Regions from separate parts of the Homo sapiens genome. Here region 2 is linked to region 1. Evidence: promoter capture Hi-C in 16 types of primary human blood cells and fetal thymus (Javierre and others, 2016). All regions are on one chromosome and are shown on one strand. The core of a region is centred on a gene start or on the middle of the fragment in contact, and the rest is flanking DNA. Distances in the headings are between cores, read along the strand shown.

Region 1 (5,133 bases), core at 1,841-4,340:
AGGCTGGGCCCAGTGGCTCATTCCTGTAATCCCAGCACTTTGGGAAGCCAAGGCGGGTGGATCACCTGAGGTCAGGAGTTCGAGACCAGCCTGGCCAACATAGCGAAACCCCGTCTCTACAAAAAATACAAAAATTAGCCAGGGATGGCAGTGTGCACCTGTAATCCCAGCTACTTGGGAGACTGAAGCAGGAAAATTGCTGGAACCTGGGAGGCGGAGGTTGCTGTGAGCCCAGCTAATCTGAAGGCTGAGGCATGAGAATCGCTTGAACCCGGGAGGCGGAGGCTGCAGTGAGCTGAGATCATGTCATTGCACTCCAGCCTGGGGCAACACAGTGAGACTTGGTCTCGAAAAACAAACAAACAAACAAACAAAAAATAACAATAATAATAATAGTCACTGATGAATCTTAGAAAGGGCCTACGCATCTTGATTTCAAAGACAAATATTTCTTAAACTCATTAAATGCAACTTATTAAAATCACTGATTATTTACTTACACTAAATAATTTTTTTTTTAGACAGATTATCGCTCTACTGCCCGGGCTGGAGTGCAGTGGCATGACGCGATCTCAGCTCACTGCAACCTCCCCCTCCCAGGTTCAAGTGATTCTCCTGCCTCAGCCTCCCAAGTAGCTGGGATTACAGGCGTGTGCCACCACTAGTAGCTGGGATTACAGGCGTGTGCTACCACACTCAGCTAATTTCTGTATTTTTAGTAGAGACGGGGTTTCACCATGTTGGTCAGGCTGGTCTGGAACTGCTGACCTCAGGTGAGCCACCAGCCTCAGCCTCCCAAAGTGCTGGGATTACAGGCGAAAGCCACCACGCCCGCCCATTACACTAAATAATTATTTAAACATGTGTACCACACAGCGACTTTGTGTCACTCTATTGTTCTAATTCAGAAAACAATGTCTTTTGTGTATACATATACATATACGCATAATTACAACTCCAATCGAAGGCTCCTTGTTTCTGAAGTAACAACTAAGACATTTTCATCAAAGATATATAATTGTATCTGGCCAAAATGCATTTTCTCCTTTCTACAAATTGCTAAAGTAACATTGTTACTTATACATCTTGAAATGTTACATATCAACTTACATCAATTTAAAATTGGTTACACATTTGAAAACATAACAAAGAAATTTAGTGTTTAGTGAAAAGTACACTCTGAACCTCCTTTGAAACCATACCACAGCGATTGGGGTCAGTATTCAGTGAACACTTAAATTAGGAGGTATTTTAAAATTATCATTAAAATTACACAAATAGGCCGGGCATGGTGACTCACGCCTTAATCCCAGCACTTTGGGAGGCTGAGGCCGGTGGATCACGAGGTCAGGAGATCGAGACCATCCTGGCTAACACGGTGAAACCCCTTCTCTACTAAAAAAAAAAAAAAAAAAAAAAAATTAGCCGGGCATGGTGGCACGCGACTGTAGTCCCAGCTACTCTGGAGGCTGAGGCAGGAGAATCGCTTGAACCCGGGAGGCGGAGGTTGCAGTGAGCCGAGATCACACCACTGCACTCCAGCCTGGGTGACAGAGCAAGAATCTGCCTCAAAAAAAAAAAAAAATAATTACACAAATAACAACTTTACACAATACAGCTAAACAAGAAGAAAAAAATTAAGTTCACTTATAAACACTTTGGTTTATATAATTTCAGACTTTTACATACATATATTTCTTTTTAACAAAAAAGAGGGATCACTATATATAATACTTTGTAATCTGCTTTTTTCAATGAATTCTCTTTCCATGCTAATAACCTTCTACAAGTAATCATATTTTAATGGCTATGTGTCATTCCACCAAGTAAAATAATCTTAATTTGTTTAATCCATAAGGCTGTTTGTAACCTTAACTTTTCACAGTAGGCGTTTTGTTTGTTTGTTTGCGATGGAGTTTCGCACAGTCTCCTGGGCTGGAGTGCAGTGGCGCGATCTCGGCTCACTGCAAGCTCCGCCTCCCGGGTTCAAGCGATTCTCCTGCCTCAGCCTCCCTAGTAGCTGGGATTACAGGTGCCCGCCCCCACGCCCAGCTAATTTCTGTATTTTTAGTAGAGACGGGGTTTCACCGTGTTAGCCAGCCTGGTCTCGATTTCCTGACCTCGTGATCCGCCTGCCCCGGCCTCCCAAAGTGCTGGGATTTACAGGCGTGAGCCACCGCACCCGGCCAACACAGTAGGTGTTTTAAAGCATTTTTATTACAATAGCATAAATCCGGCCTTGGCTTCTTCCTGTTTCTCTGAGAAATGTGGACAGTGGGGCTTGGGCCCGTGGGCTCTTCAAAGACTGTCAGTCACCAGGCGGGGACTTCACTGTGTCAACTGTGAACTACATACATGTTTAAAATAAATATAAACAAAAATTTAAAAATGATAAGCCCAAATTCTTCTAAAACTCAAGTCTCCACTTATAGTTCCTTATTTTCCTCACTCAGAGCTGGACGTTTCGTAGGGAAAAAGCAAGCTTTTGTGAAAATTCTAAAGGTATAATCCTAAATTATTTCTGGTTTCCGCTCACCCCTCTAGCGAATAAGAATCACAGCCCCAAATAATAATAATAAAATGATGTTTCATGCCCCCTGTTCTATCCCACTAATTTTGACCGCGCGTGAAAGGTTTTGAGGGTTCAATTGGATGAACCTCCCCGCCCCCCACACCTTTAAGATAAAAACTACATTCACAGGGATGTCTGTTTTAACATAAAACTCTTGTAAGGGCCCCACCCCATCTGTCGGGCAGCTGCCCCCAAACATCTCCAAAGCCGCAAACTAGGGAAGCCTAAAGGACAAACTGGTCAACAGGAGAATCAGACCACACGGGGTACATGTTTCGCTCCCTTCAGTCCATGAAAGATGAAATTATCGCAATAAAATACTGGGAAAAAAAACCCTCTTTTACCACAGATTTTGACAGTTTTTCCGGCTACAGAGTCACAGGAAAGTGGGAGTTAGTCGTTTTGCCCCACCATCCTCAAATTTCTTAGTGTTTAGAAAAGAAAATATCTCCTCAAGAGCTTCCCGCCAGGAGGCGAGAGGGTCACACTCCCGTAGGCTCCGGAGCTGCAGCCCTACCCACCAGGCGTCCCCGCGGCCTCTAGAATATTGTAGAATCTTCCCAAGAGCCCCCGCGGGAAGGAGGCCCGCCCCCTCATGAATAGCAAGCAGCCTCAGCTCTCGTAGTGCCCGCCTCCCTCATGAATATTGTAGATCTTCCCAGAAGCCCTAGCGGGAAGGAGGTTCCCCCCCGCCTCCCGCCTCCCCGCTTTATGAATAGCAAGAGAGCCAGCTCCCATGGTGCCCTCCGTCTCATGAATAACTAACAAGGGCGAGGTTCCTGGAGCCCAAACTCAGGCCTCAGCCACCCTTCGCTCCAAGCTGAAGACAAGAAGGGGCTGGAGCCGTTACGGTGTGGGGAAGGGGAGGGTGTAGCCCAAGATCCTGAACGTGGCGAGCCACGTCTCTGCTCCACTGCCTTTCCCTTCACCTAGTTTTGAGACAATTTTTGAGTTCCTCCCACCCCCACTGACTCCAGTAGGGCAAGTTACAAGGGGTTTCATCAAACCTTTTGGTGGAAAAAAACCTCCAGACATTCCTTTTTAAATTTGTCTTGCCGGTGCGGTGGCTCACGCCTGTAATCCCAACACTTTGGGAGGCCGAGGCGGGAGGCTCCCTTGAGTCCAGGAGTTTGAGACCAGCCTGGGCAACATAGGGAGACCCCCACCCCCAGCCATAACCCCGCTCCCGGTCTCTAAATAAACACATAAATAATAAATCTGTCTGGAATCAAAGGAAGATGTGTGTCTCCATCCTCTCAAGATGAAATCAAGACAAATCTTTCTAGCTAGGCCTTCCTGGCTAGAAGATTAAATTCTCATTCATTCATTTCTTCATTCATTCTGTAACTATTTATTGAAGCCTGCTCTGGGCCGGGCACAGGAGTAGGCCCTAAGGATGGAATAGAGAACAAGACAGATACGTTTCCTGCTTTAATGGAGTTTATTAGCCTAATGGGGAAGATAGAATGAACAGACAGAGCATCTACAGATGTTGAGAGCAGTTCCGGTGAGAGCAGCGTGACAGAGGAAATAAGACAGAATGATGGGGTGTGTGTGTGTTGGCGGAGAGCTACTTTAGATAGACTGATACTCAAGGTCCCTTTGATATGACGATTTGAGAACTGATGGAGGAGAAGGAGCCAGTCAGGAGAAGGGCTGAGGGAAGAGGGAATGGGGGAAAGATTCTACTTTTGTAGATCAATTCTACATTATACCCAACACAAAATATATAAGGAACTACATAAAGACTGAGTGGAAATTTAGGATTAGTTGGCATGCTGTTATTTTATATAGTCACATATATTCATCCATTTGGCTTTGTATCTTTTTTTTTCCTGACCTCAGGTGACCTGCGTACCTCAGCACTGCAAAGTGCTGGGATTACAGGTGTGAGCCACCACTCCTGGCCTTTTTTTTTTTTTTTTTTTTTTTTGAGACAGAGTCTTGCTCAGTCGCCCAGGCTGGAGTTCAGTGGCACGATCTCGGCTCACTGCAGCCTCTGCCTCCTGGGTTGAATTGATTATCTTGCTTCAGCCACCCAGTAGCTGGGACCACAGGTGGGCACCACCATTGTATTTTTAGCAGAGATGGGGTTTCGCTATGTTGCCCAGGCTGGTCTTAAACTCCGAGGCTCAAGCGATCTGCCTGCCTCCCAAAGTGTTGGGATTAAAGGTGTGAGCCACCGGGCCCAGCCCTGGCTTTGTATCCTTTTGCAGCCAATTCTTTTTTTTTTTTTTTTTTTTTTGAGATGAAGTCTGCCTCTGTTTCCCGGGCTGGAGTGCAGTGGTGTGATCTTGGCTCACTGCAACCTCCACCTCCCAGATTCAAGTGATTCTCCTGCCTCAGCCTCCCAGGTAGCTGGGATTACAGGCACCCACCACCATGCCCAGCTAATTTTTTTGTATTTTTTAGTAGAGATGGGGTTTCACCATGTTGGCCAGGCTGGTCTTGAACTCCTGACCTCAGGTGATCCACCCACCTCAGCCTGCCAAAGTGCTGGGATTACAGGCTTGCGCTACCGTGCCCAGCTGCAGACAATTCTTTTTTTTCCCCCTGTCTCC
Region 2 (5,035 bases), core at 1,073-3,572, 94 kb before region 1:
TACAGTTTAGGGTAGGATCCTGTTCTCTTGTAAGCTCCGTAAGATCCTAAGGTAAAACCTGCCCCTCTGCATCCCCTCCCCAGTCTGGAGGGGAGGCCTCTGTGATTTTGTGCCCTTCCTCACCGCGTCTTTCATCCACCACCCAAAGCTGGCTCCAAGTCCAAGTATTCTGTCCTTTCCATCTGAACTGGGAGGGCTGGGAGGACTGGATGGAAGAGAGGTGCAAGGGTGGGAACACTAGATGAAAGAGGGGTATAGAGCCCTGGGGCCAAGTTCATTACTGACCTGGAGCCAGGTTTTGTTCAGGAGAGGATAGTTTATTGGACACCTTATCTCTCCCCTCCCCCTTGGTGTGTGAGCTTCCTCAGTGACCTTTGGCCTCTGAGTCAGCGTGAGGAGGTGGGGTTGGAGGTTCTGAAAGATATTTGAACTTGCTCTTGGGGAGTGTGGGCATATGGGGCCGCTGCTGTGTCACTGTTCCTCCTGGTCCTGGGCTTGACTGGGCAGGAGGAGAGGAGGGGGTATATTGTGGGCACGAGGAAAGTTGTTGATCTCCCCATGACCATGCCAGCCGCTGTTGGGCAGGACTTGAGCTTAGAGCTATCAGATAATGAAGTCTCCCCTTGAGAATGTACCTGTCCTTGCACACTGGGGTTTCGCCCGCCCCTCGTGGCAGAGATTTTGGCCTCTGCATCTTGAGTTCCCTGTGGTCCCCTTCTTCTCCACAGTCATGAATTGGGAAGAGGCAGTGGGCACTTGACCCGTATAAGGAAAAAGCAAAACATGAAGGCAGGATTGCCACTCCAGGAGTTGGGAAACTGGGTCCTTGTTCCAGGTCTGCTCCCACCAGTTTTATGAATGTCTCTAGGCCTCAGTATTCACCATCTGTCAGATGGGTATGATGATGTCATTTCCTTAAAGGTGGGGCAGTGCACTAAAGTCCCTGAGTGCTAAAGAGGGTGCTGTATAGACTATGCCCTCCCTACCTCTCTGGGATGCTCTGTTCAGCTCCACACCACTCCCCTTGGAAAGACCTTCAGTGCCGTGTACCCGAGGGGAGGGGAGCAGGGATGGGCAGGGTGCCCTCCCCAGTTCTCTTACCCTAGCTGGAAGAGGACGTTCAAGTGGGGGTTGCCCAGGGAAGTGGGAGTTGGTGATTCCTTCCTCTTTTTAGAACTCTCCCTATAGGAAGTGGCCCTGGAGAGACCTCGCCCCCTGTACTGAGCAGGAGACCTGAAATATCCAGGTATCAGACCTATTCCTCTCCACCTGCTCCAGGCAGTAAGGATAGGACCAGGAATGGGGAGCCAGTGCCTGGAGGATGCTGGGCTGTGACCAGGGAGGAGGGGAAACCTTCAGTCCCATAGGCAGCTTCAGTCCCATAGTTGCTAACCAACTTCCCAAGGCCTCCCATTTACAGCAAAAGAGTCAAATTAGACTCACCCGTTTCTCTACAATCCCCCATGGTACTCAGCCCACTACGTGGCCCAAAGCACAGGGTGTGTCCTTGGTTTCAGCCTTTTCTCCTCCCTGAGCCTTATCTCCCAAAGGCATAGGTGGGTAAAAACCTTGTCACCTCTGAAGGCCACCCTGCCCCCAACCTGCAGTACCCAGCATGCTTTGCAAGCTGGATAAATATGTATTGCTGATGACAGTGTTTGAGGAAGGAGGTCGAGATTTGCTTCTCCAGAGGACTTCTGGGATTAGAGCTGGGGGAGAAACAGGGTGACCTCATTTGCTCATTCAACAAATATTTATTGAGCACCTACTTTGTGCACCTGCTTTGTATCTAGGGAGCTGTGTTGTCAAGAACCTCGCCACGTCCCTCTTTCCTGGCTTGCTTCCCCAGGTTTCTGAAAACAGGTGGAGGTAGAGGATTGGTCTGCTGCCAGTTCCCCTGGAATCCCCTGTTAGGGTGGGCTCTCTGCCTCTGCTTGTCTCAGCGCTCCCTCCCCACTCGAGGGGGTTGAAGTCCTCACAGCTGTGGTGCCCCGTTTTGCTAGCTGAAGCTTAGAGTACCCCACCATCATCTTGTGACCATCCCTTCATAATAGCTACTAGTTATCACGATATGCTGGGCTCAGTCTTCACAGCAGCCTCACAAAGTAGGTGTATTCGCTCTTGTAAACGATGCACTCCATAAATGGAGGCTCAGGTAGCCCATGTGGCTCATCTCCCTCTCTTAGAGCTGAAATTCACATCCACAGTTCTTTCTGCTCAGCTCTTCTGCCAGTGTGTTTGCAGAAAGTACTTTTATTTATACATATTTATATTTTATTTACATCTCATTTGTGCCAAAAGTAGGTCCCATCCCTTCCTGACCCTATCTGGAGGAATGCTCTGGGCCTGGGGTCTTGTATGGGGGCGTGGGGCCACTGGGAATAATCCTGTCCTCCTCGGAATTTGTGGAGGTGCAGCAAAGATCTATGCCTTTAAGCCAGCGGGTCAGGTGGCCAACCAAGCTAGGCTGGTGCCCCGGCCAGGGTGGGGCTGGCATTGCCTCTGCAGGAGGGAGAAACTGTAACCCTGGGCAACAGGAAGGGAAGAGATGGTCTCATAATCCATCCCTGAGTCATGGCCACCCCAGGTAGCCTGGGTTCAGAGGCCAAGGTGCCAGGCTGCAGGCACAGTGACACGAAGCTTGCCACATCCCCCCCAACCCAGAGCCACAGAGGGACAGGCTGTCCCAAGTGAGGGGTATCCTTGCAGGCTTCTGCCCCTACCAGCCTGTTTACCTTTCTTTAGAGTGGGTTGCAGGTAGGCAAGGGAAGATCAAGATGACCCTGCCTTGGAGCCTCGGATCCAGGCTGAGAGGCCTCTAACAGGCAGCAGAGGTAGGGTCTGTCTGGTTTCTGTGAACAGGGAAGCCATGGACTTTGCAGGCAGCAGGAAGGGGCAGAGGTGCATGCCTCGAGGTGCAGTTTCCTTGAGTCCTGAGGCCCAGGAATGCTTCGCTGAAATCATCTTGCCTGGGGCCTTTAAAAGAGGGGGGCTCTTGCTCTGGGACAGAGCCCATGGGGCAGGGCAGAGGCAGACGGGGTCACTGTGGGGTCCTCTGGACATATTTCCCTGACAGTGTCCTTCCCCAGACCCCATTGAGACAAGGCAGGAGTTCTTTCATCTTAGGGTCCAGGCTTGGCTCACAGCGGTTGTGGAGGGACTGGCCATTTTCTGCCTCCCCTCCCCACAATTTTCCTACCCCAAAAAGGACACAGTGGAAGGAGCTGGTGGGTTTTCTTGAACCTTGGGGCCTTCCTCCAGAGAGGGTAGGGGAGTCGCCTGAAGCTGCTGGAGGTGCCAAGCATTAGGGGTGGAACGGCCTCCTCTCCTGACCTTCCAGCACTCTGGGAGACAGTGGCTGCAGCTCCACTTGACACTTGTGCTTCATAGTAACTGGTTTCCATGTTTCTGCTCAGAGCCCCCTGCAGGGGGACAGGCGACCACCCTCCTCTGCCCCACCCTTGGGTGTCTGGATGAGAGTGTGGGGCCTGTGAGGGAGGTGGGAAGGAGCTACTGATAGAAATAGGTGCCATCCCCTAGAAGAGGGGCTCTGCTTCCTCCGCGTGGCAGCCTGGAGGGGTCTTTGGAACCACTGGGTCCAGTGTTGGCCCTGTGCCCCCTGCCTGCTCAGTACACCCCACCCTCCTTCTCCAAGGGGCTTGGCTCCGGGTGCAGGCCTGGCCATCTGGAGTAGGGGTCTCTCTCCCTTTGTCTCCCCAACGTCAATCAGGAGGCAGCCTTGGAGGTCCGTGGTCCTAGGACAGTGTGTAGCCCTTCGTGTGTGTGTGTGTGTGTGTGTGTGTGTGTGTGAGAAAGTGGGTCATGGTCTGGATTCTGGAGAATGTTTTTCCTGGCAGGCCCCTGTGGGGGTAGGGGGAGGCAGGGGCCCAGGCAGGGGCCTAGGCAGGGGCCTGTGCAGCTAAGTAGGCAGAGGCCAGCAGACTGGGTGGTGACCAGGCTGGGGCACCCTGCCAATGCCTCCCAGTTACTCGGGGAGGGAGTGGGGCTGTCACTTCAGGGGCCTGTGGGGGCAGGGACCAGCCTGTCTTAGTGTCCCTGGTGGGTTCTGTGTGTTGGGGTATGCACCACTTCAGGGGCCTGTGGGGGCAGGGACCAGTCTGTCTTAGTGTCCCGGTGGGTTCTGTCTATTGGGTTATGCACCAGAAGGAGTCTTTAAGTTGCCTCATAGGAGTTTGGGGGCCCTGGGTCACTGGGATAGGCCCAGGTTGGGGAGGGGGCCAAGCTTAGACCCGCCACTTCTTTGCTTCCAGACTTCCGGCTGGCCGTCCTCCCCAAGAGTGGTTCTCCTAGCATTCTGTTTAATATTCCACCATTAGGTTTTTCCTTTGGGTCTTCTTGATAGGGAACCAGTACCCTATTAGAAGGTGATTTCCCCCTGAAATTACCCTGGGGGTCTCTGGTTGAAGTGGGCCATGGTAGGGAGGTTGAATCCCAGATTCTCAGCCTTCTTTCTGCTATCCCCTCCTCCCAGTGTCTCAGAAGCACCTCTCCCTCCGGGGGTTTGGAGACAACATTTTGAAAAGCATCGCCTTGGGGGAATTCCTTGACAAATGGCCAAGAACCAGCTCTGTGGCTGGGCTCCTTCAAAAGTCCCCCTGGGCCTGCCTCCTGGCCTCCTTCTTTTGGAATGGGGAATGTCTCCCTTGACTACTGGGAAATGGGGCAGGGACAGGCCAGCCAGGTCACTCAGGTGGCCTGGATTATTCTGGGGTCCTGGCAGTGGACCCCTGTTTGGTGGTGATCCAGCACATCATCCTGGGCTTCTGGGGGTGAATTTAGATCCTGTTGTCATGGGTTTGCCTAAGCATCAATACTTCTCAGGGGTTCCACAAAGACCCCTCCAGGCTGCCACGTGGAGCCTGTTAGATCGTTTCTCTTTTTTTTTTTTTTTTTTTTGAGACAGAGTCTTGCTCTGTCACCCAGGCTGGAGTGCAGTGGCACAATCTTGGCTCACTGCAACCTCCACCTCCTGGGTTTAAGTGATTCTTTTGCCTCAGCCTCCCAAGTAGCTGGA

Evidence for each region. Contacts are between HindIII fragments. The CHiCAGO score rates a contact against its expected background, and 5 or more counts as called.
Region 2: a fragment that was not itself captured here is called in contact with the fragment with the promoter of FBXO47 in region 1 in 3 of 17 cell types (total CD8 T cells, naive CD8 T cells and naive CD4 T cells); the score reaches 6.5 in total CD8 T cells.

What each region holds. Positions count from the first base shown.
Region 1 is chr17:38,964,313-38,969,445 of GRCh38, forward strand. FBXO47 (F-box protein 47) reads right to left here and starts at 3,091. Exons shown (of 11, transcript NM_001008777.3): 1 at 2,917-3,091. The HindIII fragment of the contact is 5,025 bases long and covers 2,481-5,133 here.
Region 2 is chr17:38,871,280-38,876,314 of GRCh38, forward strand. All of the region lies in intron 1 of LASP1 (LIM and SH3 protein 1), which reads left to right. Among named protein-coding and RNA genes, the nearest start is that of LASP1, 3.7 kb to the left of the region's middle. RefSeq lists an enhancer at 41-642. The HindIII fragment of the contact is 631 bases long and covers 2,008-2,638 here.